Regions from separate parts of the Homo sapiens genome. Here region 2 is linked to region 1. The links are contacts of gene promoters, found by promoter capture Hi-C in human tissues and cell types (Jung and others, 2019). All regions are on one chromosome and are shown on one strand. The core of a region is centred on a gene start or on the middle of the fragment in contact, and the rest is flanking DNA. Distances in the headings are between cores, read along the strand shown. Region 1 holds the start of HOXD9 (homeobox D9). Region 2 overlaps PDE11A (phosphodiesterase 11A).

Evidence for each region. Contacts are between HindIII fragments. The study calls those that stand out against the background at their distance.
Region 2: a fragment that was not itself captured here is called in contact with the fragment with the promoter of HOXD9 in region 1 in 1 of the 25 tissues and cell types used here (dorsolateral prefrontal cortex).

Annotation. Positions count from the first base shown.
Region 1 is chr2:176,121,463-176,123,972 of GRCh38, forward strand. HOXD9 (homeobox D9) reads left to right here and starts at 1,257. Exons shown (of 2, transcript NM_014213.4): 1 at 1,257-2,123; 2 at 2,472-2,510. The coding sequence starts at 1,307. The HindIII fragment of the contact is 11,890 bases long and covers 1-2,510 here.
Region 2 is chr2:177,740,397-177,742,906 of GRCh38, forward strand. The region is part of intron 10 of PDE11A (phosphodiesterase 11A); the gene reads right to left. Among named protein-coding and RNA genes, the nearest start is that of PDE11A-AS1, 68 kb to the left of the region's middle. The HindIII fragment of the contact is 3,830 bases long and covers 1-2,510 here.

The sequences.
Region 1 (2,510 bases), core at 7-2,506:
GGAGGTGGGCCGGGAGCCCTCCAAGGGTGAGCTGGGCAACTTGTAGAGCAAGGAATATGCCCTCCGCTGCCGGCGCCCCGGCCGCTTTTGTCTGGGCTCCCAGCCGGGCTTCCGAGGCTTTGTACCATGGATTTGGGAGTGACAATGGGCATTTCCCTCAGATTCAAGGCTGCTCAACCTCACCTCTGTAGGGGGAAAAAAATCAGAAGGGAGTGTCCCAAGGACCTAGCCATTCGGCCGAATTTTTTAGACATTTTGGGAGTCTCCTCCGAGGCCTTTAAGTGCGAACCGCGCGAAGCGGCCCTGCCCGGGGAGACTCGCTGAGGCAGGGCTGAGGCGGCGGGCGGGAGCAAGCTGCTCTAGCATTTGGGTTCTGCCCTGTGGCGTGTTCTCTTCCAGGGCCTTTCCAGCATCATCGGAGAAGACGAAGCACCCTGGCCGCCACTGTCCGTGCTGCGCCAACTCGCCCGGCCGCCCGCCCTTCCGAGGGCAGGCAGAAGCCCCTCTGTGTCCTCCACCGCCGCGCCCCGGCTCGCCCCTCGGGCCGCGGCGTGTGCCCAGCCTCACGTCGGGGTGTGTGTGGCCGCGCGGGCGTGTGTGAGTGTGGCAGGGGGAGGGGGCCCTCCGATCTGCTCCATCCGTCCGTTTTATTAGGGACACATTAATCTATAATCAAATACACCTCATAAAATTTTTATTGAAAGGCATAATATCATTACAGAGGTCTTCCACCTGTTTTAAACAACACGACAAGCTGTGAGCAAGCGTGTGTGTGGGGATGTGTGGGGAGGGGTGGGTGTGAGTAGGGAGAGAGGCGAGGGGAGAACAGCTCCCCTCGGGCGCTAGGGGCCGCCCCGAGGGCCCGCCTGCCTCGGGCGACACCGGCCTGGCGCCCCCGCGGCCGCTCCGTGTGCCCTGGACTCGCCGCCCGCGGCTCGGAAGCTGGAGAGTCAGCGACGGGGCCCGACTGCGGGACCGAGGGCTGCAAGAAGAAGCGAACAAATAGTCCCCAGCGCCTCCTCTGGATGCGGTCGCGTCTGTGGTCCTGGCAGCCGCTGGGCGGGCCAGGCCAGGTCGGGCCGGGCCGAGCCGGGCACATGGACCTGGGCCTGCGGGCTCTAATTGCGGCGCTTATGTTGATGATTTTTTTTTTAATCACAGCAGCCCCCAGTTTAGCGGACTGATTTACTCCCGGTATTGGTAAATATGATCACGTGGGCCGCGCGACCAATGGTGGAGGCTGCAGCCTGCGAACTAGTCGGTGGCTCGGGCGCCGGCGGGGAGCTGCTCGGCGGCGGACAGTGTAATGTTGGGTGGGAGTGCGGGACGCCTCAAAATGTCTTCCAGTGGCACCCTCAGCAACTACTACGTGGACTCGCTTATAGGCCATGAGGGCGACGAGGTGTTCGCGGCGCGCTTCGGGCCGCCGGGGCCAGGCGCGCAGGGCCGGCCTGCAGGTGTGGCTGATGGCCCGGCCGCCACCGCCGCCGAGTTCGCCTCGTGTAGTTTTGCCCCCAGATCGGCCGTGTTCTCTGCCTCGTGGTCCGCGGTGCCCTCCCAGCCCCCGGCAGCGGCGGCGATGAGCGGCCTCTACCACCCGTACGTTCCCCCGCCGCCCCTGGCCGCCTCTGCCTCCGAGCCCGGCCGCTACGTGCGCTCCTGGATGGAGCCGCTGCCCGGCTTCCCGGGCGGTGCGGGCGGTGGCGGTGGTGGTGGAGGCGGCGGTCCGGGCCGCGGTCCCAGCCCTGGCCCCAGCGGCCCAGCCAACGGGCGCCACTACGGGATTAAGCCTGAAACCCGAGCGGCCCCGGCCCCCGCCACGGCCGCCTCCACCACCTCCTCCTCCTCCACTTCCTTATCCTCCTCCTCCAAACGGACTGAGTGCTCCGTGGCCCGGGAGTCCCAGGGGAGCAGCGGCCCCGAGTTCTCGTGCAACTCGTTCCTGCAGGAGAAGGCGGCAGCGGCGACGGGGGGAACCGGGCCTGGGGCAGGGATCGGGGCCGCGACTGGGACGGGCGGCTCGTCGGAGCCCTCAGCTTGCAGCGACCACCCGATCCCAGGCTGTTCGCTGAAGGAGGAGGAGAAGCAGCATTCGCAGCCGCAGCAGCAGCAACTTGACCCAAGTAAGTGCAAAAGAAATTGCCCCCTGATTTATTGCTGAAACCTGTAAGGCTCGAATGTGCAAAACTGATAGTTTTACTAACCTATAAAAACGTCTAGACGCCTACCCAAGCCTAGGCGAACAACATGCATCCATAAAAAGAGCTTCCCATAACCACCTACCCTGGGCGCTCAGTTAGTACGGTAAACAGAGCGCGAGCATTAAGGCTTTTTATGATAATTCCCCACAAGTTGTGAAAAGCGACCATCCTTGGTGAAATTAATTTAACGACCTCTCTTCCCCACCCTGTGGTCTCTCCCTGCCTCCCCTCCTCTCCTCTCTCCCCGTCTCCAAACCTCCCTCTTTGTAGACAACCCCGCCGCGAACTGGATCCACGCTCGCTCCACCC
Region 2 (2,510 bases), core at 5-2,504, 1.6 Mb after region 1:
ATGGTGCATTTATTAAGACATATTGTGTATCAAGCATTGTGCTAAGTGCTTTATAGTATTCCATTTAATCCTGCAACAACCCCATGGGTAAGATTCTATTACTAGTCCCAGTTTAGCCTCCATAGCACAGATGAAGTAACTGAGGTTAAGAAGATAAGCGACTTTCTCAAGGTCACATAACTAGAAAACTGCTGGGACTAGAAATCAATCCCAATGAATCTAGCCCTGCCCTCTGTGTTTGTAACCACTACCCTATATTGCCCACACAATCATTTGAATGCCTCTTAGCTTAGATCCACTGCAGCACAGCATGGAATTATTGCTTCCAGAGATTTTCTTCCATGCAGCTTTAAAAAACTTATTTATTTTTGTGGTCTTGTGAATCTGTCTCTCATCATTCATAAGTTCCATAAGGAAAGGATTCAGATTCTCATATGTCAGCAATTATCATAGCCTAGTACTTTTCTCATGGCAAGTAATTAATAAATGTGGGTTGGTGGGATGCCAAGTGCATAACCTCCTGAGCCAAACAGATGTGCATTTGAATCTGAGTTTGCTGCGTGCTAAAGCTGTGGCCTTGAGCATCAGTGTCCTATTCTGAGAAGGGAACACAATGATAACTATCTTACAGTCATTGAAAAGCTTCAGTGAGACAAAATACTTAGCACAGTGCCAGGTTCATAGGAGGCCCTCAGAAAAAGACAGTGTGTTAGTCTGCAAAATACCACAAATTGGGTGGCTTAGACAACAGAAATTTATTTTCCCACAGTTCTGGAGGCTGGAAGTGCAAAAGCAAGGTATTGGCAGGTTTGGTTTCTCTTGAGGTCTCTCTCCTTGGCTTGTGGATGGCTGCCTTCTCGCTACGTGCTCACACGGCCTTCTCTCTGTACATGTGCACCTCTGGTGTCTTTTCCTCTTCTTGTAGGACACTAGTCATTGGATTACAGCTCAACCATATGACTTCATTTAGCCTTAATGACCTCTTTAAAACCCCTATCTCCAAATACAGTCACGTTCTAAGGTACTAGGGATTAGGGCCTCAACATATGAATTTGGGAGTGGGGAAGAAACAATTTGGTCCATAACAGACAGTTATCATTATTGCAAATGAATTGAGCACTAAATATCTAGAAATTCAAAATAAATGTTCCATGTCAGACCCAAAAATGGTGGTCCCTTTAAAGTGTCCTGATTACAATTTTAGTTCTTTCTCTCCTTGGTGCCTTAGAGAACGCAACCTAGAAAGGCTTTTTCTCTTTAGGGAACTGCACCATATTCACTCTTGGAAAGAAATATATTCAATATGGGGTTATCCAAGATACACTGGAGGAAAACATGATACATCAAGTCCAAGTTAAAGATAAGAACTGGGTGTGATGGCTCATGCCTGTAATCCCAACACTTTGGAAGGCCAAGGAAGGAGATTCACTTGAAGCCAGGAGTTGGAGATGAGCCTAGGCAAGATCCTATCTGTACAGAAAAAAAATTAGCCGGGCACAGTGGTGCACGCCTGCAGTCCCAGCTACTTGGGAGGCTGAGGTGGGAGGATTGCTTGAGCCCAGGAGTTCAGGGCTGCAGTGAGCTAGGATCACAACACTGCACTGCAGCAGCCTTGGTAACAGAGTGAGACACTGTCTCTTAAGAAAAAAAAAAAAAAAGATAAGGATCAGAGGACTGTAACCTTGTCAAATGCAATTATCAGGCTGCACAGTCTGCCAGGGAAGGAGACCCTCTTGTGAAGAGCTGGCAGTGGAGTGCTTCTCCAGTCCAATAATCTTGTTGAGTGCACCCTCCCTTACTATGCCTAGGTTCCTATCATTATACTCCCTGTATTTAGAGAAAACTATACATGACTATCCTGTTTAGAAAAGGTCCAGGAAAGATTTTCCCTTCTCGGGGAGCCCTAGTATGACAATCCCAGTTTGTCTCACCCCATCTAGCTCTACGGAACCCCTGGCCTGCAGCTCTAATCCTCTCTATTGCCCCTGATGAAGTCTTTCTTGGTGCCTCCAAGCACAGGCAATGTCTGTCACTTCGATCTTCCCTTACATTTTGTCCTTTTCTCTCCTACAGCATTTACCATAGACTGCTCTCCATCGAAGTTGCTGTGCAGTCAACCACTCACTCAGTTCATTTGACAAATACTTAGTGAGGGCTTGCTATGTGTCAGGTACATTGCCAGGTGCTATGCAGGTATCTATGCATCCCACAAGACAGGGACTCTCTGAAGGGCCGGACAGAACAGAAACTGTGTTTGCCTCATTTTTGTACCAGCTAGAGAGTCCACCCCTTGGCAGGCTGTCCCTAAATGTTAGCTAAATTCAATGGACAGATGTGAAAGGGGACTTTCTCTGAGAACACTTTCCTCAGGAGGAAGACAAGGCTAGGAAAGTAAAAGGAGGCAATGTCTTGAGGTCTGAAGAAAAGCTCCATTTCCAAAGGTCAGTAGAGGTAATGGAGGTTCTGACTTTTAATCCCCATCCTGAAAAGGGAGGCCCCAGCTAAGAGGA